7 separate regions of the Homo sapiens genome follow, and all the other regions are linked to region 7. Evidence: promoter capture Hi-C in 16 types of primary human blood cells and fetal thymus (Javierre and others, 2016). All regions are on one chromosome and are shown on one strand. The core of a region is centred on a gene start or on the middle of the fragment in contact, and the rest is flanking DNA. Distances in the headings are between cores, read along the strand shown.

Evidence for each region. The method cuts DNA at HindIII sites, captures the fragments that hold promoters and counts their contacts. A CHiCAGO score of 5 or more calls a contact.
Region 1: a fragment that was not itself captured here is called in contact with the fragment with the promoter of COG6 in region 7 in 1 of 17 cell types (non-activated CD4 T cells); the score reaches 9.0 in non-activated CD4 T cells.
Region 2: a contact is called between a fragment that was not itself captured here and the fragment with the promoter of COG6 in region 7, in 13 of 17 cell types (total B cells, naive B cells, naive CD8 T cells and 10 more). The highest score is 12.5, in total B cells.
Region 3: a fragment that was not itself captured here is called in contact with the fragment with the promoter of COG6 in region 7 in 1 of 17 cell types (activated CD4 T cells); the score reaches 6.5 in activated CD4 T cells.
Region 4: a fragment that was not itself captured here is called in contact with the fragment with the promoter of COG6 in region 7 in 5 of 17 cell types (naive CD8 T cells, total CD4 T cells, naive CD4 T cells and 2 more); the score reaches 7.5 in naive CD8 T cells.
Region 5: a fragment that was not itself captured here is called in contact with the fragment with the promoter of COG6 in region 7 in 6 of 17 cell types (naive B cells, total B cells, naive CD8 T cells and 3 more); the score reaches 11.2 in naive B cells.
Region 6: a contact is called between a fragment that was not itself captured here and the fragment with the promoter of COG6 in region 7, in 2 of 17 cell types (non-activated CD4 T cells and activated CD4 T cells). The highest score is 7.1, in non-activated CD4 T cells.

What each region holds. Positions count from the first base shown.
Region 1 is chr13:40,926,020-40,929,375 of GRCh38, reverse strand. No RefSeq gene overlaps it. Among named protein-coding and RNA genes, the nearest start is that of ELF1, 92 kb to the left of the region's middle. RefSeq lists an enhancer at 1,199-1,318. The HindIII fragment of the contact is 2,583 bases long and covers 268-2,850 here.
Region 2 is chr13:40,759,498-40,762,617 of GRCh38, reverse strand. The region is part of intron 2 of MRPS31 (mitochondrial ribosomal protein S31); the gene reads left to right. Among named protein-coding and RNA genes, the nearest start is that of MRPS31, 10 kb to the left of the region's middle. The HindIII fragment of the contact is 789 bases long and covers 1,276-2,064 here.
Region 3 is chr13:40,797,645-40,801,021 of GRCh38, reverse strand. It overlaps SLC25A15 (solute carrier family 25 member 15), which reads right to left. Exons shown (of 7, transcript NM_014252.4): 3 at 1,707-1,965. It also overlaps the pseudogene TPTE2P5. Among named protein-coding and RNA genes, the nearest start is that of SLC25A15, 9.7 kb to the right of the region's middle. The HindIII fragment of the contact is 2,243 bases long and covers 936-3,178 here.
Region 4 is chr13:40,698,742-40,702,176 of GRCh38, reverse strand. No RefSeq gene overlaps it. Among named protein-coding and RNA genes, the nearest start is that of MIR320D1, 27 kb to the left of the region's middle. The HindIII fragment of the contact is 3,255 bases long and covers 305-3,435 here.
Region 5 is chr13:40,776,997-40,780,374 of GRCh38, reverse strand. No RefSeq gene overlaps it. Among named protein-coding and RNA genes, the nearest start is that of MRPS31, 7.5 kb to the right of the region's middle. RefSeq lists an enhancer at 3,079-3,128. The HindIII fragment of the contact is 7,552 bases long and covers 1-3,378 here.
Region 6 is chr13:40,722,699-40,726,086 of GRCh38, reverse strand. No RefSeq gene overlaps it. Among named protein-coding and RNA genes, the nearest start is that of MIR320D1, 3.5 kb to the left of the region's middle. The HindIII fragment of the contact is 1,960 bases long and covers 585-2,544 here.
Region 7 is chr13:39,653,886-39,657,060 of GRCh38, reverse strand. COG6 (component of oligomeric golgi complex 6) reads right to left here and starts at 1,399. Exons shown (of 19, transcript NM_020751.3): 1 at 1,182-1,399. The coding sequence starts at 1,334. RefSeq lists a silencer at 1,086-1,135. The HindIII fragment of the contact is 8,496 bases long and covers 1-3,175 here.

The DNA.
Region 1 (3,356 bases), core at 310-2,809, 1.3 Mb before region 7:
TGACCCCCACCCACTTAGGTTGGATAATTTGCTAAAAGAGCACACAAAACTCAGGGAACCAATTTACTGGTTTACATTTATGTCAATTTATTATAAAGAATAGAGCTCATGAACAGCCAAATGAAAAATGCATAAAGCAATGAATGGGAGGAAGTGAACAGAGCTGCTCTGCCGTCTCACGATGTGCCACCCACCTAGCACCTCAAAGTGTTTACCAGCCTAGATGTTCTCCAGACACCATCATTTTACGAGTTTTTAAATGAAGCTTTTATTACATAGGCATGCCTGATTAAATCATTGGCCATTGGTGATTGAACTCAATCTCTACACCCTCTCCTCTCCTTGGGGATGGGACTGAAAGTTCCAATTCTAATTACATGGTTGGTTTCTCTGGAAATCATTTCCCATCCTGAAACTATCTGGGGACCCATGAAGTGTCCACCTTATTAGCATAAACTCAGGTATGGTTGAAAGGAGCTTGTTACGAATAACAAAAGATGCTCTTCCCTTCTAAATGCCAAAGGTTTCAGAAGCTAGGGTGTCAGGAACCTAGGGATAAAAGCCAAATAAAATGTTTTTATTGTATCACAATCATGCACCTATTTACAGAATAGTCTTTCTAAAATATCCCTTGGCAGTTTGGGCAACATAGTGAGACCCCATCTCCAGAAAAAGTAAAAATATCACAGTGCATGGTGGCAAGAGCCTGTAGTCCCAGCTATTCAGGAGGCTGAAGTGGGAGATCTGTTGAGCCTGGGAGGTTGAGGCTGCAGTGAGCTGTGATTACAGCACTGCACTCCAGCCTGGGTGACAGAATGAGACCCTGTCTCAAAAAAATCAAATAAAAATATCCCTTGGGAATACATAATGTTCATATATGGAAACCCTCAATACCTTTCTACTTGTAGGATAAAGTCCAAAATCCTTAGCTTACCATTCAAATTCCTCCATCAAACTGGGTTCCTAGGCCAACTATTTCAGTGTTATCCTTTTTTTTTTTTCTTTGAGACAGTTTCTCGCTCTGTTACTAAGTCTGGAGTGCAGTGGCACAATCTTGGCTTACTGCAACCACCGCCTCCTGGGGCTCAAGAGTTCCTCAGCCTCCTGAGTAGCTGGGACCACAGGTGTGTACTGTGCCTGGCTAATTTTTTTTTTTTGTATTTTTGTAGAAAGGGGTTTTTGCCATGTTGCCTAGGCTGGTCTCCAGCTCCTGGGCTCAAGAGATCCGCCCCCGCTTAGCCTCCCAAAGTGCTGAGATTACAGGAGTGAGCCCTTGTACCCTGCCGATGTTTTTCTTAAAATGCAAATTTTTTGGTTCCACCCCATACTTACTGAATTTGCATCTCATGGGAAAGCTGTACAATTTGCTTTTTTTTTTTTTTCCTCCCGAGACAGAGTCTCGTTCTGTCGCCCAGGCTGGAGTGTAGTGTCACGATCTCGGCTCACTGCAACCTCCGCCTCCCGGGTTCAAGCAATTTTCCTGTCTCAGCCTCCCAAGTAGCTGGGATTACAGGCGCCTGCCACCACGCCCGGCTAATTTTGGTATTTTTAGTAGAGACGGGGTTTTGCCATGTTGCCCAGGCTGGTCTCGAACTCCTGACCTCAGGTGATACGCCCACGTCGGCCTCTCAAAATGCTGAGATTACAGGCATGAGCCATCGTGCCCGGCCTCTACTTGAATTTTACAATCAGTTTGTCAACTTCTAAAAGGGAAAAGCCTCTGGGATTTTTAGTTTTATTTTATTTCAGAGATGGGGTCTTGTTATATTGCCTAGGCTGGTCTCGGACTCCTGGCCTCAAGCGAACTTCTGGCCTCCTGTCTCAGGCCCCAGTAGCTGAGATTACAGCCCCACTTGGGATTTTGATTGGGATCATGTTGAGTCTATAGGTCAGTCTCGGAAGATCTCAACAATATTGAGTCTTTGACTCATCAATTTGGAGGAGCTCTCCATTTTTCAGTCTTCTTTAATTTTTTTTTTTTTTTTTTGAAATGGAGTCTCGCTCTCTCGCCCAGGCTGGAGTGCAGTGGCGCAATCTCGGCTCACTGCAAGCTCCGCCTCCCGGGTTCACCCATTCTCCTCCCTCAGCCTCCCGAGTGGCTGGGACTACGGGCGCCCGCCACCACGCCCGGCTAGTTTTTTTGTATTTCTTTAGTAGAGACGGGGTTTCACCGTGTTAGCCAGGATGGTCTCCATATCCTGACCTCGTGATCCGCCCGCCTCGCCCTCCCAAAGTGCTGGGATTACAGGCGTGAGCCCCCGCGCCTGGCCAATTTCTTTTCTTTTCTTTTTTTCTTTTTCTTTTCTTTTCCTTTCTTTTCTTTTCTTTTTTTTTTTCTTTTTGAGACGGAGTTTCACTCTTGTTGCCCAGGCTGGAGTGCAGTGGCGCAATCTTGGTTCACCGCAACCTCCGCCTGCTGGGTTCAAGTGATTCTCCTGCCTCAGCCTCCCGCGGAGCTGGGATTACAGGCATGTGCCACCATGACCGACTAATTTTGTATTTTTAATAGAGGCGGGGTTTCTCCATGTTGTTCAGGCTGGTCTTGAGCTCCCGACCTCAGGCGATCCACCCATCTCGGCCTCCCGAGTCTTCTTTAATTTCTTTCAGCAATGTTTTATAGTTTCCAGTGCACATGTCTTGCATATCTCTTGTCAGATTTACTTTTTAGTATTTAATATTTTTTATGTTACTGTAAATGTCATGGCTTTTTACATTTTAAATTTTGATTATTAGTGATTTTGCTTTAAATCTTTTTTCTATTTTATTAAAGTATAACTTTGTAAAGTGCACAAATCCGTATATAAAACTTTGTAAAGTGCACAAATTCATAAACCTCTCTTTGGGAAAGCTTTATTGTGAAAAAGATACAAATAAGATAGTCTTGTTAGATTCAGTTCGAAAGGAAATTATCAAGTGTAACACGCTTACTTAAGGATGGCCTCGACATTAGATTGGGAAGATTTTCTCTTTCAAATGAATGAAAATGATCCCTTTCATAGGAAGATGTTAGGTAACACAGGATAAGTGACTAAATATTTTCACTCTTCGAGTTGAAGACCAACTATCCTTCAAGAAATGTCCCCTAATCCAGCATGGTTATTCTTCACCTTCTTTAAATTAACCAAGCGAAGTACATTGGCATATTTAGTTGTGTCATTTGAATATGAAAACATATTTTATCAATGACTTCTTAAGTATTTGTCTGTCCTTCCTCCCAAGGTTTCAATAAACTGATGCCAAGAATTTATGGAGAAAATTATAAAAGTTTACTAAAAGATATGAGAAACGGAATGAATGAAGCAAGCAATTGTGTTCATGGACAGGAAAAGGCAATACAAGGGAAAGATATCATTTCT
Region 2 (3,120 bases), core at 421-2,920, 1.1 Mb before region 7:
CAAAAAATGAAAAAAAAATAGCTGGGTGTGATGGCATGCACCTGTAGTCCCAGCTACTCAGGAAGCTGAGGCAGGAGGATTACTTGAGCTGAGGAGGTTGAGGCTGCAGTGAGCTGTGGTTGTGTCACTGTACTCCAGCCTGGGTGGGAAAAAAAAAAAAAAGAATGAGGGGGCTGGAGAGGTGCTATTTTTAAGAATAATTAGGGAAGAACTCTGATAAGGTAACATTTGAGCAAAGATTAGAATCAAATTAGGGATAAAGCCATGTAGATATCTGAAAGATGAATTCCTTTTCAGGCATAGAGGATAGAACTGCTTAGGCCTTGAGGTTGGAGTATGCAGTATCCTTCAAATTCCACAAATTTGTTTCTTTTCTTTCATTTTTTGATACAGAGTCTTGCTCTATTCCCCAGGCTTGAGTGCAGTGGCACAATCGCCTCTACCTCTGGGCTCAAGCAATCCTCCCACCGCAGCCTCCCGAGTAGCTAGGACTACAGACATGCACCATCACATCTGGCTAGTTTTTTTTTTTTCTTTTTGTAGAGACGATGTTTCACTATGTTGTCCAGGCTGGTCATGAACTCCTGGACTCAAGTAATCTGCCCACCTTGGCCTCCCAAAGTGCTGGGATAACAGGCGTGAGCCACCATGCCCAGCTGTTTATTTTTTCTTTCTTTCTTTCTTTTTTTTTTTTTTCTGTTTATTTTCTTTAAACACATATTCTTAGAAGTGGAATTGCTAGGTCAAGAGATGTGCATATATATATTTTTTGCCTTTGATATATGGCACCAAGTTGCCTGCCAAAAGCGGTGCCAATTTAAGTATCCACTCAGTTTCTTTCCCTCATCAGAATTCTTTTCTGAAATTGTATGTCATACAGTTTATTTTAAAGAAATTTAAAAAGTACAGAATGTTATGAAGGGGAAAAGTTTGTATTAATGAAATGGTTTTAATTACAGGATAGAATAGATTGTTAAAAGATACTTTAACAAGTTCTCCTTACATTGTTAAAATATATGAAGAAAGATCCCTGTATGTAAAAATTATTCAATGACAGAGGCTCCCCCACAATTTTTTATTAATTAGAACATTTCAAATTATAAAGCCAGAGAGTATAACTACATAGGAAACCATTGTTATGAAATGTATGATTCTAGAAAATGAATATTCATCTATGTTCTGTGTATACTTTGATCAAATATATTAAAATTTGAAAATGAAGTTCACAAGTAGTTTATGAAAGAAATACAATGACTTTGGAACAAGGTTAAAGCTTTATTCACAGATAAGTTTTAAAAGCACATTTTATTTTAACTTATATTTCTCTATTTTTCTTTTCTTTTTTTTTTTGGAGACAGACTCTCACTCTGTGCCTCAGGCTGTAGTGCAGTGGAAAAATCATGGCTCACTGCAGCCTCTACCTCCTGTGCTCAAGTGATCCTCCCACTCAGCCTCACCAGTAGCTGGGACTATAGGCACATGCCACCACACCTGGCTAATTTTTTTTTTTCTTTTCTTTTTTTCTCTATCCCAGGCTGGTCTCAAACTCCTGGGCTCAAGCGATCCTCCCGCCTCAGCCTCCCAAAGTGCTGGAATTATACAGGAATGAGCCACCGTGCCCGACCCCTTGTTTAATTCTTCTCTTTTTCTTCTATTCCTATCAGATTTTAGATCTTTCATAACTTAGTTAAGTCCTTAAAATCTTTCTCCAAGAACTTCAGGAATTTGGGAAGTTTAACTTTCGTATTAGGTAACGTATCATAATATAGAAAGCCAGGTATAGTAAAACATTAATTTGGATCCCACTCATTGAGATGTCAGTTCTCAGTGAGTTAAAAAATGTTGCAAATAGCCAAGCATGGTGGCAGTTGGCTATAGTCACAGCTACTCAGGAGGATGAAATGGGAGGATTGCTTGAACCCAGGACTTTGAAGCCAGACTTGACGACATATTGAGACCCCTGTCTCTTAAAAAAAAAAAAAAAAAGGAAAAAATGTTGTAAATAGTTTATTTTCTTTTTATAATAGAATGTTTTTCTATTAACTTGCTCTAATTTAGGAAGCTTTTAAAAGCTTTTTCTTATGAAAAATTTAAAACATATGCAAAGAACACAAAATGGTATAACGCCTTTCTACTGTTGCCCAGCTTCAACAGTGATCAACATTTTGCCATTCTTGTATGTCCTATGCCTTCACCCACTTTCCATCTCCTACTTGATGATGATTTATGGCTCTTTTTTTCAGGTAAAATTTACATGTATTAAAGTATACAAATCTTAGCTGTAGGATTTTGAGAAACAGGTAAGTCCCTGTGACCCACACACTTAGCAAAACACTACATTTTTCATTTTTACCTTCCCAGTCAGTAGCCATCAGTCCTGAGGCAATTGCTGTTTTGATTTTTTTTTCACCTCAGATTAGTGTTCCCTGTTCTGGAACTTGATATAAATGGAATCATACAGTTTTTTTTTTTTTTTTTTTTTTGACAGAGTCTAGTTCTGACACCCAGGCTGGAGTGCAGTGGCGCAATCCTGGCTCACTGCAACCTCCACCTCCCAGGTTCAAACGATTCTCATGTCTCAGCCTCCAGAGTAGCTAGGATTTTACAAGCATGTGCTGCCATGCCTGGCTAATTTTTATATTTTATATTCTTTGTGTCCAACTTCTTTCACTTGATCTAATGCCTGTGAAAGTCATTCATGTTGTCATGAGCTGAGTACTCTTCCATTGTATGGATATATCACAATTTGTTTTTCTGTTCTGATGATAGACTTTTAGGTTGGTTCCAGTAAAGTTTCTGCGAACTGGTTAACCTGCCTTTATATTTGCTTACAATATATATTGTTTCTGAAATACAATAACATCTAATTAAAAATTCCACTAATTTATAATTTTTGAGGCTGATCTGTCCCTCACCCCTCCACCTTAATATATTGTTCTGAGTTAGTGTTGTGCTTCAGCAAATATCCATTAATTTTAACATTTAACATTTCAAAGTTTATATAAAACCGGTACCTAATAGTTGAGAATTCTTGCCTTTGTCAGAAATTGAATTGAATACTTTTTTGAACACCAAAGTTTTCTCCAAAAATCATTTCACTTTTCACTAAACTAATGGTGT
Region 3 (3,377 bases), core at 808-3,307, 1.1 Mb before region 7:
GGCTCAAGTAATCTGCCCACCTCAGCCTCTCAAAGTGCTGGGACTACAGGCGTGAGCCACTGTGCCCAGCCTTACGCATCTTTAATGAACTAAATAACACATACACTATATGAAATAAATGTACCCAGAGTGATTCTTCACGAGAGAGACACTGTGACGTAATTTCCCAACCCTTTCTTAAGGACACCCAGCAATTCAATGTTCTGAAAGCAGTGTGGGAAAATGCAGCTGTAAGGTATTAGATTGTTCTCAGCAGAAAAGCAATATGCTCTTACCTGTCCTTCACTTTGTTCACAGGCTAAGGAAGCAAGAAAGTGGAGGGGCGGGCAGAGCCAGATCCAGTGGTTTCACTCATGCAAGACAGAAGTCACTGTCTATCCTGTGGCTGGAGGGGCTACTTTGCTCAGAAGACACAGGTCTTCCCCAGAATCTCACGTGGCTGCTTACTGTTTCCCTGTCTTCTCTCCCCATTTTGTCCTTTGCTAAGGAAACTGAACTGAATTCCAGGTCTTCTCTAATAGAGTGTCTCTCCTTCAACAGGGAACAAAACTACAGTTGCCTGTAGTTTTTGCTTCTGTTCAGTCTCCATCATGGCATGCCATACTCTCCTGGTTTGTGCCCTGCTTGTTTCTTTACTGCCTTCCTGCCTGCCCTTTCTGTGCTGGAGGCTCATCCCATTCATGCTCAGCCCTCCTCGCTGTCTACACTGTCTTCTTGGGCAATCGTATCTAGTCCCAAGCCTTTTTAAAAAACAAGCTCTACCCATCATGGTGGAATTCCTGTCTATAAAAGGGCACACCTTCAGACCTCCAGGCACCTCCAGAGAACAGTGCTGTGCACAAGAAACCGAATTCAGTTGTGTGGGACCTGCAGCTGCAATCAGGTTTCAAACTCCTACTGAAATAACTAAGACTGCCCTTTGCAATCTTGAAGCTTATATAATAATTTTAAGTGGTATAAAATAAATCAACATTCAAAGCAGGGATAGCTAAACATCCCAGTGGTTTCCAAATTCTGTTTAGTCTCTATATAATAAATACCCAAGGCAAGACCAACAAAGAGGCAAAGTCTGATGTTTTGGGAAGATTTGGACAGAGAAAGGTGGGTTCCCTTGCATCTTCGCAGACATTTCCGACCCTTCCTAAAACTCCTCAAGTTCATCTGGCTCAGACAACCTCTTCCAATACTCTGCTTTTTGCTAATGAAAGAAAAGCTAAATCTTGGATCATAAGCAGCATCTACAGTTTCAGTGCAGCATGTCTGCTGACGAGAGGTAGCACTGCCAGCTGCATCTGAACAGCATTCTCCTGGAGAAAACTGAAACAGAAGGGCGGTTCATTCTCAGTGGTGGATGATGAGCAGGTCTCCTCTGTGGTGTGCATATGTGGTTTCTAAGTTTTATATGATGACAATGTATAACTTCATAAATAAAAGGAAAGCAGTTATTTTTAAAAAAGGAAATGTTCTTCCACATAAGGCACCAGTAAAATTGTGACCATACAACAGTAGATTTTTTTTAATTTTTATTTTTTTGTAGAGATGAGGATCTTGCTGTGTTGCCCAGGCTGGTTTTGAACTCTCAGCCTCAAGCCATTTTCCTGCCTTTGCCTCCCAAAGTGCTGGGATTACAGGCATGAGCCACCATGTCTTGCCAGTTTTGTGGGGTTTTTTTAAACAAATAAAAAAAGTGTGTGTCCTTGACTCACCTCAGCTTTGCCTGCTTGTCCAATCCAGCCACTTTCCGCACCACCTGCTGGCAGAAGCCGTAGCACATGAAGAGGACTGAGTTCTCAGCGATGTTGGCGATTAGTGCTGGACTGGTACCCTTGTAGAAGCCACGGAAGCCCACCTGGGAGTAAGTCTTCAGGCAGCAGTCGGTGAGGCCCCGGTACAGGTCAGGGAACGTCTGCATCTTCACTTTCATTGTGTCAAAGGGCTGCCCGGTCAGTACACATGCTGTACCTCCTGCAATCAGGACAGATGACTGCTCTAGTACGAGGCTACAGTTCCATTATCCATGGAAGGAAGGCACAGGCAGCCTACCCCAGAACTTACCCCTGCTTCGGTTCATTTCAACCTCTTTTCCTCCAAAACCTTCCAGCCATGTCCAGTAAACAATTTAGAGCAGGTCCTTGATGTGCCTGGCATCTAAGTCCCACCCTGAAGGAGCTCATGCCAGGCAGGGGAGAGAGACAGACATGTGTTCAACAGCGGCAAACAGTGCAGTGAATATGTAGGAGCCTGGGCAATAGGGTCAGAGGGACTATGGCTTTGCTGTGAGATCCTGGACAAGCCATGTAACTTCTGAGCCTCAGCTCCTCATCCATGCCACCTCACAGGGTTAGCGTGAGGATTAAATAAAAATGGAGGAGACAGGCTTGGCACAGCACCGGCTACGTAATCAGTAAACAGCAGCTACTGTGTGCACAAGAAACGGAAACCACAGAAAGGGAGGGGAGACCTGGGAAGACTTCATCGCTCACTTTGCCTAATGCCCAGTGGGACTGATCAGACCCGGCACCACGGAAAGGAAACAAGGAGTCTGGCTAATTAATCCCCAAAGAGCTAAATATTTCATTCTATAGAAAAACCTCTTTAATTTGAGCTCTACCGATTAATAACGTGTATGTAAATAGAGAATGAACTGAAATTTATTTATGCTTAAATCCTTTATTTATATACTTCTATAAGATTAAATACAGCAGAGTCTACATTGCACAAAATAATTTTTTTTTTTTTTTTGAGATGGTGTCTTGCTCTGTCACCCAGGCTGGAGTGCAGTGGTGCAATCTCAGCTCACTGCAAACTCCACCTCCCAGGTTCAAGGAATTCCTGTGCCTCAGCTTCCCAAGTAGCTGGGATTACAGGCACCCACCACCACGCCTGGCTAATTTTTGTACTTTTCATAGAGATGGGGTTTCACCATGTTGGCCAGGGTGGTCTCTAACTCCTGGCCTCAAATGATCCTCCTGCCTTGGCCTCCCAAAATGCTGGGAGGCATAAGCCACCATGCCCAGCCACGTGAAATCATTTTAGTAAAAATTCTAAACAGAAGAGAAGAATGAACTGTAACCACCCTACAACATCCCCACACCCTGTAGTAGGGTTGGCGTCGTGGGAACTGCCAGTGGTTAGTGTTTACCGTCTCCTTCTGGACCTGAGAGGAGCTCTTAAAGCTTCATCAAAATGCAAAAGAAGGCTTACAGAAAATATTTAAGAAATGCAACTTCCTGAATTTGATGTTATACACAGTTATTCCATCTAAACTCTGGAAAGTGGAGTTGGGGGAAGGGACATTAAGAATAATTCTCAATTATTTATTGGCAAATAAGCCAACAATTCCAGAGTCTGAAAACTGCTTGATCTCTTTTTTAAGC
Region 4 (3,435 bases), core at 683-3,182, 1.0 Mb before region 7:
CACCTCCCAGGTTCAAGCAATTCTCCTGTCTCAGCATCCTAGGTAGCTGGGACTGCAGGCACCCACCACCACACCTGGCTAATTTTTATATTTTTAGTAGGAGTGGGGTTTTGCCATATTGGCCAGGCTGGTCTCAAACTCCTGACCCCAGGTGATCCACCCACGTTGGCCTCCTAAAGTGCTGGGATTACAGGCATGAGCCACCGCGTCCAGCCTAGATTTTTTTGTTGTTGCTGGAGAATAACATTTAGAAACCAAGATATGGGTACTGGGTGAAAGCTTATTCTTTGATGATTATAAAGCTTATATATCAGAAGATTTACCAATATAGGATGATGCAGCATCTTCAGTAATAATCTGAAGCAAAACAGCCAATATATATGGTTAGCTTTAAGCATGGTTTAAAATGTTTTGTTTACTCCAAAAAATGCTTTAGGTACAAATGCCATTTATATCAAAGTGCTTTCCTTCCTAAAATGCTCCTTTATTTTTAAGCAGGAATATTAATTTTGTTTTATTTTCCATCTCACATTCTTCTATCCATAATGTCAAAATAATTACGTCTTATATTTTAAATAATAGAATTACAAAATGTTCAATCTCATTGATAATCAAAAATCTTGGCCGGGCACAGTGGTTCATGCCTATAATCCCAGCATTTTGGGAGGCCAAGGCCGGTGGACCACGAGGTCAGGAGATCGAGACCATCCTGGCTAACACGGTGAAACCCTGTCTCTACTAAAAATACAAAAAATTAGCTGGGCTTGGTGGCATGTACCTGTAGTCCCAGCTACTCAGGAAGCTGAGGCAGGAGAATCGCTTGAACCCAGGAGGCGGAGGTTGCAGTGAGCCAAGATCGCACCACTGCACTCCAGCCTGAGTGACAGAGTGAGACTCTGTCTCAAAACAAACAAACAAACAAACAAAAAACAAAAAAGAGAAAAAAGTAAACTTAACAATGAGATTGTTGCCATCTTATGAAAATATTAACAAATGTTTAAAAGATTGATAATATTGTTAAGAGTAAGCTGGGCACAGTGGCTCAAACCTATAATCCCAGAACTTTGGAAGGCCAAGGTGGGTGGATCATTTGAGACCAGGAGTTCGAAACCAGCCTGGCCAACATGGTGAAATCTTGTCTCTACTAAAAATATGAAAATTAGCTGGGAGTGGTGGTGAACGCCTATAATCCCAGCTACTTGGGAGGCTGAGGCAGGAGAATCACTTGAACCCAGGAGGCAGAGATTACAGTGAGCCAAGATCACAGCCACTGCACTGCAGCCTGGGTGACACAGCGAGACTCTGTCTCACAAAAAAAAAAAAAAAAAAATTAAGAGTGTGAGAAAGCAGATCCTCTATAGCACCTATTTGAGAGCAATTGGTAGTATTGATGGACATGCAAAATGTGCATTTATTTTGTCTTAACAATTCCACTTCTAAAAAGTTTCCATCAGAAATAGAAGTACAAGTATACAATGGTGTGGGTGTGTGTGTGTGTGTGTGTGTCTATGTGTGACTGCATTGCTGGTAATGATTAAAAACTGGAGATAATTGAAGTGTCCATCAAGAAGGACTAGTTAAGTGCTTTGAACCACTGTATCACGCAGTTGGGGGAGAGTTGTGGAAGTCTTCCTAGAAGAAGTGATGTTTAAGTTGTGAACTAACTAAAAGATGAGTAGGAACAAGCTCTGTGAATTGTGTATGTGTGTTGGGGTGAGGAGAGGACATCCAAGGCAAGCTATGGCACATAGGATGGCCCTGAGGCAAGAAGATGGTGTGTTCAAGACTTGGATATTAGGAAAGAGGGAGAGGAAGAGGAGCTTAAGAAGGAAGAGGAGCTTAAGATGCTCCTTAAGAAGGAGCATCTATTTATGTGCTGGTCTCCCTAACTTCACCATGAGCTCCTTGCAGCTTATTTATTCTCGTTTCTCCATGTCTAGCCCAGGTTGACATTCAAAACATAGTTGTTAAATGAATGAAGTAATTTGACCGACTAACCCTGGAACAGAAATCTTAACCTGGGGTTGAAGGTCCCATGATGTTTGGGGGGTTGGGAGGTGGTTGGTGAACTTGAATAGGAAAAAAAAATGCTTTCTTATTTCCATTCACCTCTAACTGAAAATTAGCACTTCCTTCCATTATGAAGTCACACAACAAAACACAGTAGTATTAGCAGTACCTATGACTTTGTCACCCATAGAAGTCACAGTTATTTTCATCTCACATTAGAGTTGTTGCACGTATCTCAAAATATAATTTATGCTCATTACTACTTCAAAATTATAGTAATTATTACACCTGCCACTAGATCTTGTTATTTAATGTGTCAATCAAAGAATAATATTTATTATTGTATCACATGTTAAACTATTTTGATAACTGTATTTCAACATAATTGGCATCCTTTGTAATCCTATGTATTTTATTTTATGCATTTAAGAACACTGTTCTGAGAGGGAGTCCACAGGTTTCTCCCAACTACCGAGGGAGTCCATGTGCAAGGGGCTAAGAACCCTGCCCAAGAGTGTAACATACAACCCTTTCTACCACACTCTCTGTGATGAAGGAGGTAATGTTTTTGTTGTGTTGTTGTTTTTGAGGCGGAGTTTTGCTCTTGTTGCCCAGGCTTGAGTGCAGTGGGGCGATCTCGGTTCACTGCAACCTCAGCCTCCTGGGTTCAAGTGATTCTCCTGCCTCAGCCTCCAGAGTAGCTGGGATTAGAGGCTTGCGCCACCATGCCCGGCTAATTTCGTATTTTTAGTAGAGATGGGGTTTCTCCATGTTGATCAGGCTGGTCTCGAACTCCCGACCTCAGGTGATCCACCCACCTCGGCCTCCCAAAGTGCTGGGATTACAGGCATGAGCCACGGTGCCCGGCCTGATATAGGAGGTAATGTAAATTGTAGGTGTCATGGCCCAACTCCCCCCTTTTTTTTTTTTTTTTTTTGAGACGGAGTCTCGCTCTGTCGCCCAGGCTGGAGTGCAGTGGCGCGATCTCGGCTCACTGCAAGCTCCGCCTCCCGGGTTCACGCCATTCTCCTGCCTCAGCCTCCCTAGTAGCTGGGACTACAGGCGCCCGCCACCGCGCCCAGCTAATTCTTTTTGTATTTTTAGTAGAGACCGGGTTTCACCGTGGTCTCGATCTCCTGACCTCGTGATCCGCCCGCCTCGGCCTCCCAAAGTGCTGGGATTACAGGCGTGAGCCACCGCGCCCGGCCCCAACTCCCTTTCTGTCAGATAAACGGCACCTTTTCCTCTCCCCAACGTAAATAAACTCTGGTTATTCTGTTCTTTTCCCACTCTCAGTTGGAGAAACCACTTCTGCTCCTGCTTCAATTCTTATTTCCATAAGAATGACTCTTACATGCGAACACTCAGCCTGACCTCTCTCTGAGCCCCAGTCATGTATTCATAATGGTCTGTTTCTTGTTGTGT
Region 5 (3,378 bases), core at 275-2,774, 1.1 Mb before region 7:
AATGTACTATTTTATAATTACATTAATAATGGTTCCCCCAGTAAAAATAATCTGAATTTAGACCCTTTGTATCTAAATATTTATATGGCACCCATCACTAGATACTTAGCTGTTTATAAACATTTTTAAAGTGCTTTCATTAAATTAATTATTCTGGTCAAACGTAGGCAGATACAACCATTGAAAGGACACACAAATAAAGGCCCAGCACAGTTGAGACACCACCTTAGGACTTAGCATGAAGGCTCTGGGTCAGACACCTGAAGGGAAAATCCTAGCCTCTCTGCTTCCAGCTGGATGAGTCAGAAAAGTCTCTTGGGGTGGGAATAAGAGGAAAGATCAGGTTCTGCCAGGTGACGCTCTAAGTACTCCCTGCTCCATGCCGCTGCTTCTCAGCTTCATGTGATTGCACCTTTGAGGACTTCCATGGGCCACATTCTAACCTTCTTATTTTATTTTATTAATTAATTTATTTCTAGAGACAAGGTCTCGCTCTCTTGCCCAGGCTGGAGTGCAGTGGCTTGATCATAGCTCACTGCAGCCTCGAGCTCTCAGGTTCAAATGATCCTCCTGCCTCAGCCTCCTAAGTAGCTGAAACTATAGGCATGTGCCACCACACCTGGCCAATTTTTAAATTATTTTGTTGGTGTGTTTGTTTGTAGAGAAGGGGGGGGGGTCCTCATTTTGTTGACCAGGCCGGTCTCGAACTCCTGGCCTCAAATGATCCTCCCATCTCAGCCTCCCAAAGTGCTGAGATTACAGGTATGAGCCACTGTGCCCAGCCCTAACCCTCTTATTTACAATAGTATTCTTTTCGTCACTGTGCCTAAAGTTGTAAAACATGGCCAACTCCCAAATGCACCATCATTCAAAGTATTTTGCCAACCTCTCTGTTCCAATTAAGCACTGGAAATTTGGAGATGAAAAGCCACACCTCATTCCATTCACTAAGAATCACAGAGCCAGGCACAAGGAGCTGGGAGCAGCAGTGCATGGGCACCCAGAGCACCAGGAAAGGGTCTGGAGGGGGCAAGAGCTGAGCCTTGAAGCAGGAGGAGGAGTTAGGCAGGGCAGAAGGAGGGAACACACCATAAGATTGCAAGGAGGTGGGGAAGCCATGACCATGTCCCGTGTCCGGGAGCTACAGGGGCTCTGGTCAGGGTAGGAGGAGAAGTAACAGGAAGGAGACTAGCAAAGGAGGTGGGGCTGATCTCGTGGGGTCTCACAGGCCCTGCTAAGAGAGTGTAGAGTTTCTTTAGAAGATGGTAGAGGGAGCTGCTGAGTGATGCAGACATCATGATGTGAACGTGGCTGTGTGGTGGAGGTTGACAGCATGGACTCTGGGTCGACTGACCAGTCCCCAAAAGCTGGCTCTCCCACCTGATGACTTTGCGATGGTAAGAAGCTCCTGTAAGCCTCAAATTTCTCATCTTAAAAAGAGAAGAATGGGCCGGATGCAATGGCTCACACCTGTAATCCCAGCACTTTGGGAGGCTGAGGCAGGTGGATCTCTTGAGGTCAGGAGTACGAGACCAGCCTGGCCAATATGGTGAAACCCCCGTCTCTACTAAAAATACAAAAAAAAATTAGCCGGGTGTGGTGGCGCACACCTATAGTACCAGCTACTCTGGAGGCTGAGGCAGAAGAATCGCTTGAACCCAGGAGGTCGAGGTTGCAGTGAGCCGAGATTGTGCCACTGCCCTCCAACCTGGGCAAAAGAGTCAGACTCCGTCTTAAAAAAAAAAAAAAAAAAAAGGGAGAATGGTGTTACTTGCCTCAGAAAAATTTGTGAAGATGAGACAATACATATAAAGCACTTATAGCCTCTAGTACTTAGTAAGTGGTCAACAAATGCTAACTATTGTTGTTACTGATCATTTGAATAATAATGATGTATATAATTTGCCTCATTTTTTATAGTTGTGATAATGGAATGAATTAACTTTGTCACGGCAAAAGAAGTTTAAAATGTTAGTTGTGTATCCTGATAGAAAATATAAACTTAAAAATCAATTTTTTTTAGAGATGGGAGTCTTGCTATGTTGCTCAGGCTGGTGTTGAACTCCTGGCATCAAGGTATCCTCTTGCTACAGCCATTGTGCCTGGCTAATATAAACATTTGTTTATTCATTCCACAAATATTGATTGACCATGAAGGATGTACCAGTCACAGTTCTAGGCTCTTGGGATAAAGTAGTGAACAAGGCTGACAGAGGTCCCTGCTCTCCCAGAGCTTACATTCTAGCCGGGAGGCTGATGATGAAAAAGGAAACCATGTAATTCACAAGGCCTGTAAATTCCACTAGGATAGAGAACGTGTTGTATTTGTACCTTGATCTATCTCAACTGCATAAGACAGGGCATATGATCAGGCACTCAAGGAATGTGTTGAATGAATGGAAGATTATTTCAGATAGTGCTGCATGCAGGAAGACAAGGAAACAGCATGACATGACAGAGTGGGAAGGTTGGCTTGGCTAGATGTGGTGCACTCCTGAGAAAGCCCTGCTGAGCTAAAGTGGATGATGTGAAGGAACCAATCGTGGGACAGTCTTTAGAATGGCTATTCCAGGCCAAAGAAGATTCCGTGCCTAAGCTGAAGGCCCGGAGGCAGGGCTGTGCTAGACCTGCACAAAGAAAGATGGAAAGGAATGAATGGACCCCACAGCACAGGGACCAATCATTTGTGGGTGTTTGGCAGACCTGTCTTTTATCTAATAGGAGACTGTTTTTGCCTCCAGAGGGCACTTGAACATAACAAATACATCTAAGGGCCAGCTTGGGTTAGCCCTTAGAGAAGCAGTTTCCCGAAGGCATAACTTGAGAGGGCCAGGAATGCAAAAAGAAAATAATCTCAGACGAAGCCTTTGCTTATTGAAATTTGCAAGCACCTCTTTTAAAAATTAAATTTTCTTGAGATAGTTAGTACAATAAGCTAGCAATGTGGGTTTTCGTACATTAGTGTTAGTTGAATAATATAGCCCTCCCCCTGGTGGACAGATGACAGAGAAGTTTGGCAGGTAGGAGAGGGGACGAAAGGCTAATATAGAGAGGTCTTGGCAAGGGTGTCAGGCCTGGGTGAGACCCAAAGCAAGGAGGCTCTGAGAAGCTAAAAGGCAACATAGAGACAGGCCAAGGGACAGGAGAGAATGAGTACAAGAAGTCAAGAGGATGGGCGGGGGGAACCAGAGTACTTTGATGTACTTTAGAAATTGACCTGAGGACAGTTCTGCCTGGTCATATCTCTGTCATCTCCAAAAATTATGTGCTAAGCACAGTTTCAGCATAGTTCTATGTCATATGCTGTGCCATACACATTAGTGTGACATGATCCTGGTCTTCCATGCACTTAAAATCCAAAGCAACTTTAAACATGAA
Region 6 (3,388 bases), core at 315-2,814, 1.1 Mb before region 7:
TTGAGACAGCTTCGCTCTTTTTGCCCAGGCCAGAGTGCAGTGACACGATCTAGGCTCATCACAACCTCCGCCTCCCAGGTTCCAGCAATTCTTCTGCCTCAGCCTCCCGAGTAGTTGGGATTACAGGCACACACCACCACGCCTGGCTAATTTTTTATTTTTATTAGAGAAGGGATTTCACCTTGTTGGCCAGGCTGGTCATGAACTCCTGACCTCCAGTAATCCACCTGCCTCGGCCTCCCAAAGTGCTGGAATTACAGGTGTGAGCCACTGCACCTGGCTGGGTTTTTTTAAATGTCAAGTGATAACACTATTTACTGGAGTTATATGTAAAGCAAGAATACAGAAAGGTTGAAAGTAAAAGGTAAGCTGGTATAGCTATATTAATATCAGGAAAAAAATAGTCTGAAAGACATTAGAAACTTAAAAAAATTCTGTTTATCAGAAAAATACAAAGTTGTACATACCTAATAACATGACTCAAAATATACAAGGCAAAAGCTGATAGAAATACAAATAAATATACCATTATGATAAAATATTTTAACGTAATAATTGATGAACTCAGCAGACAAACAGAAGCTTTGCTATACCTAATTATCTTGACCTAATGGAAATTTGTAGACCATTACACAGTGATCTAAATAGCTGCAAATACATTTATTTCAAGCACACATGTTGATAAATCAATCATAAACTTAGTCATAAAGCATATCTAGACACATTTCAATGGAATGTAGAACATGTTTTCCAATTACATTGCAAGTAAGTTAGAGACCAGTAACTGAACGCTAATCAGGAAAACTCCCTATGTTGAGAAATTTTAAAACCCTTTTAACTTATTCATAGGCCAGTGAAAAAAATATTCAGGCCAGGCGCGGTGGCTCACGCCTGTAATCCCAGCACTTTGGAAGGCCGAGGCAGGCAGATCACCTGAAATCAGGAGTTCAAGACCAGCCTGGCCAACATGGTGAAACTTTGTCCCTACTAAAAAATACAAAAATTACCCGGGTGTGGTGGCACATGCCTGTAGTCCCAGCTACTTGGGAGGCTGAGGCAGGACAATCGCTTGAACCTGGGAGGTGGAAGTTGCAGTGAGCCGAGATTGCGTCACTGCACTCCAGCCTGGGCGACAGAATGAGACTCCATCTCAAAAAGAAAAAAAGAATGAAAATCAATGAAGTAAGGTTATAATCTTAAGATATAAGAAAAGGAACAAGTGGTGTTTTTTTTTTTTTTTTTAAATCTGTTCTGTTGTTGTTGGTGGTGGTTTTTTTTTGAGACAGAGTCTTGCCCAGGCTGGAGTGCAGTGGCACATGGCTCACTGCCGCCTTGACCTGGGCTCAAGTGATCCTCCCACTGCAGCCTCCCATGTAGTTGGGACCACAGGCTCACACCACCATGCATAGCTAATAATGTTTTCGTTTGTAGTCTCACCATGTTGTCCAGGCTGGCCTTGAGCTCCTGGGCTCAAGCTATCCTCCTGCTCAGCCCCACAAAGTGTTGAGATTACAGGTGTGAGCCACCATGCCTGGCCTACATGAAATATATGCTTATTTGGTTTTGATTTTTACACTTTTATGATGTCAAGATGAACTCCCATTAACCCCCCAAAAAGGAACATCCTACTAGCTTCACATTACAAATGGAATATTAACACAATATAAACAGAAAACTGAGATGGGGTGATTAGGAGATCTAATAAGAGTAAATCTTAAAGGGAAATAGAATGAAATGTCTAAGGTAAAGGCAGAAGTTAATAGAAATAGTATAATAGGATCCATAAAGTCAAACACGGATTCATTTTTAAAAAAACAAATGCATTTCTGTCCAGATTTATTTTTTAAAAAAGCTGGGTACAGTTGCTCACATTGTAATCCTTGTGACTTGGGAGGGAAATGGAAGGATTGCCTAAGCCTAGGAGTTGGAGGCTGCAGTGAGCTATGATCGTGCCACTGTACCCCATCCTGAGTGACAGAGCAAGACCCCGTATCTGAGGAAATCATTTTTTAAAAAAAACTTTAAAATGTGAATAACTATTGATGTAAAAATTAAGATTTATTTTTCAAGAAGCTATTATGAACAATTTCGTGGCAATAAATTTCAAAATTTCATGGGCAAATTACTCAAAACTATGTTAGCAAAAATAATTTTAAAGGAAAAATGGAACAATCATTAAAGAAATTTGATGGATATTTTAAAATCTTCCCAGAAAACAAACACTAAACCCAGAGAAGTTTTCAGGAACGTTCTACTGAACATCCAGGAAAAAAATAATTCCAATTTTATATAAATTATTCCAAAACATAGAAAAAGAGGAAGCACTCTACAATTAATCATGAAGACAAATTTGAAAAATCCAAAGGAAGATAGTAAAGCAAATTCAGCAATGACTAGAAATCATTATCAAGCTGAGTTTGTTCCAGAATATCAGGGCAGTTTAACAATGGAGGAAAAAGATCATATCTCAAAAGATGCAGGAAAAAAGGTTTGGTAAACCTTGGCAGCCATTGATAATTTTTTTAAAATAAATTTTAGAAAGCTTGGAGTAGAGAACTTTTTTAACCTAATAAGTGGCATTTACAAAAAGCCTACAACAAATATCTTACTTTATGCTGAATTACGAAATGATTTCCTTTAAGATTATAAACAAGAACAGGATAATCACTATCATGATTTCAGCATTGTACTGGGGGCCTAGCCTATGCAGAATAGCAAGAAAAAAGGTGATTAGGATTGGAAATCCACCCTATAGTAACCCCAAGTAAATCACAACCTCTCTTTGAGTGTGGATGAGACCTGAGACTTGCTTTCAACGATAGAATATGGCTAAGGTGATGGGGTAGTCACTCCTTTGACTGGTTCATATTATATGGCAAAAGTAATGGAATAGTTACTCTTGTGATTATGTGATGTTACAGAAGACTCCTTGTTAGCGGACTAGAGTGCACTATCATGTTGTAAAAAGGCCTGTGAATGAGCCACCTGTCAAGAAACCTTGGGGACCACTAGGAGCTGATGGAAACCCCCAGCTGACAGCCAGAACAATGCAGGGACTCCATCCTACAGCCTCAGATAGCTGAATCCTGCCAACAACCACCTGAACTTAGAAGAGGACACTACATTTTAAAAAGGACCACAGTCTGGCTGTCACCTTGATTACAGCCTTGTGAGACCCTGAGCAGGAGACCAACAGAAACTGTGAGTTAATAAGTACATGTTTTAAGCCACTAAGTGTGAGGTAATTCATTATACACCAGTAGATAGCTAATAAAGGAAGAAAGAGACAAACCTAATTAGAGACTAGATTACATAGAAAACAAAAGAATATCTATAGCTAAATCATAAGAATTAACAATTTATTTGGCACTTCTGCAGTTGCATTTCT
Region 7 (3,175 bases), core at 150-2,649:
AAAACTCTGTCCAAAAAAGAAGGCCATGTTATCTATATCAGAGCAAGTAGCAGTCTTAAATGATATAATAAATATCAATATGAGACACATTAAACACTTCATAAATTTTATGATAAAATTAATATTTGTTAAGAAAGAGTAAGTGCCAGGCTCTTTGCAAAGGACTTTACCTGGAGTCTCTCACTGAGTCCTCAAATAACAACCATGAGAAACTTAACAGCAGGATTCCTAATTCCTAAACAGAAGCTGAGATTAGTGAAGGGACTTACTCAAATCATGATGCACACATTTAGTGGTTCTATCTAATAAGTGGTAGTCTCCAGAGCCCTAATTTCTTATTCATTACATTGCAATGTTATTTTTTTACATATCGGAATCAAATTGTTATCGACAGCTTATTTTCAGTTACCTACATATTCACCTATAAAACTCTCTAACTTTGACATATGTTCTTCTTTATGTTACACTGTCATGACCAATTTACCTAGCGACCCACAGAGACAGAAGAGATGGCTGGGTATGTGAGGAGCTGTAAAGTCCAACTTAAGTTTCAGGAGGTACTTGTGAGAGCATGCTGTCAGTTTATCTTCTAAAGAAATACAGCCTGAGCCCACAAATCATAGCGCTTGGCTCAACAAAAACTAGTAGATATGAGTTCATTTCAGCCACGGGCAAAGGTAGTTCTTTCGCGCTGCAAATTATTGCAATTGTTGTCACTTGTCCGTGGAAATGCACCCTTATCCCTACCACTGCTCTCTTGGTCTCCCGACCCCCATTTGCGCTACCTTATCTTGGAATCTGCTCTTTTGCATCTGTTTCATATCCAGTCTTGTGCTCTCCTCCACTCTCCCAGCTCACACAGCCAAACGCCTCCAGGGGTGTTTGGAGGACACTTCTCGAGGCACCACCGTTCACCAATCCCATCCAGAGAGCCTTGAAGGCACCTTTTCAGGTGGAGAGAACACCCAGGAAACCCCTTCGCTTTTCCGGAGGTTGCTGGGGCTCCCCCTTCTCACCGCCCCCGGCGCCCGCAGAGCAGCGGAGCCCGCAGGTCTGGGGTCACTCGCGGTCCCTCTGCTGCCGGGACGAGGGAGACCGCGGTGGGTCCCTGACAGACGCCGCCCCTGGCCCGGCTCAGCCCCGCAGGAACCTGTGACTCCGGCCCCGCCAGCCCCGGTTACCTTGTCGTTGTCCAGCCGCGTCTCCAGGATCTTATGCAGCTTGCGCGACAGCGGGTTGCAGGTCGTCGCCGAGGTCCCGCCTGCCCCATTGTTGAGGCCGTTGGCAGCCCCGGTCGCAGACACTGCGACCACTTCCCCGCTGCCCTCTGCCATAGCGCTGCGCGTCCCGCCCCCTGCTGCCACCTCAGCCAGGCAGGGACCACGGAGGCAGCGCGAGTATTGCGCATGTGCAAATCGGCCGCGCATGCGCATCGGCCCCGGAAGTCTTCGCCGGGTAACCCTGCTTGGGCTCTCAGAAGCGTGAGGGGCGGAGAAGATGTGGGGGGCGGGACAAGACCCTCAGGTAGAAGGAGAAAATTTATAGGATTAGAGAGGACTTTGGAATTATGGATCTGCGACCTTCAGAGCTAATTAGATGACAACCAAATGTAGTATGTAAAATACACCATGACTTGTGCCTGGCATATACATTCAATATAAGTTAACTGAAAGTTTAAATTACATTTGCCTTATCTGAATTCATTTTTTTGAAAATTATTTATTGAAGGCATAGTATGTGCCAGGTACTCTGGTAGGCATTGGAGAATCTACATTGTGTGTCTGAAACAGACAAAGCTGTTAATAGATGTTATTAGGTTGTGATGAGTGCTCAGGGGATGAAGTAGTACAGTGAAAGAAAATGGAGGGAAAGGCCCACTTCACTCAGGGAGGTTTGGAGAGGAGTTGACACTTAAACTGAGATTTGAAGGAGAATCAGAATGTGAGGAGAAATCATTCCCAGGCAGAAGAAAGTGTGTAAGTGTACAGGCCTCAAAACAAGATGAACTTGGCCCTGACACAAATGGACCAGAGCCCATGTAGCTGTAAAGTAATGGATAAAAATGTAACAAGTTGAAAAAACTTCCCGGGAAACTCTGGAAAACAAACATCATTGCTTTTTTTCTTTCTTTTCTCAGTTTTTAAAATTTGGATCAAAATAAAATCGCTGGGCTTCTGTGAATTATTTGTCAGAAACACTATTTGGCTCTTGTCATAAATTTTCCTTGTTTCATATATGTCTATGTACATAGTTATATTGTATATCAGACTTAAGGGAAAATTACCTATTACAGAGGTCACATAAAGAAAGCACTGACAAAACCACTCATCTCTACTCTAATGAAGAAGAGAAGGCCCAACTATCCAAAAGAAAAAAATATACAAAAAGCAGCAATATCTAGGTATGAATTCAACAAAAAATACAGAGAACCTAGATGAAGAAAACTTTAAAATGCTACTGGGAGAACATAAAACTTAAATCAATGAAAAAATATATTGTTCTCTTCAACAGGAAGACTCAATATTGTAAGATGTCTTTTCTCTTTCACAGATAAATTTAAGTTCAGTGTAACCAAAATTAAAATATCAAAGGTTTACCTAAGGTGTATATATCCAAATGAATTTGCATATATACAAAGCAATAATATAATGTAGAGCTTGCAAATATGTACAATTAAAAGGAATGACGATGATAACATGCCAAGTCAGGAGCGGTCATGAAATACCACATATTGTATGACCTCTTTATGTGAAATCTCCCAAATAGGTAAATCAATAGAGATAGAAAGTAGATGAGTGGTTCTGGGAAGAGGAGTGTTGGGAAGAGGGAATGGGGAGTGTCAGTTCATGGTACAGGTTAATTTTTGGGGAGATGAAAATACTCTAAAGCTAAATTGTGGTGATGGTTGCACAACTCTGTAAATATACTAAAAAACACTGAACTGTACACTTTAAATGAATGAATTGAATGGCATGCAAGTTTCATCTCAAATCTGTTTTTTAGGCCAGGTATGGTGGCTCACACCTGTATTCCCAGCACTTTGGGAGGCTTAGGCAGGGGGATCTCGAGTTCAGGAGTTAAAGACCAGCCTGGGCAACATAGCGAGACCCTGTCTCTACAAAAAAAAAAAAAAAAATACGAAAACTAGTCGAGTGTGGTGGCATGCCTGTGGTCC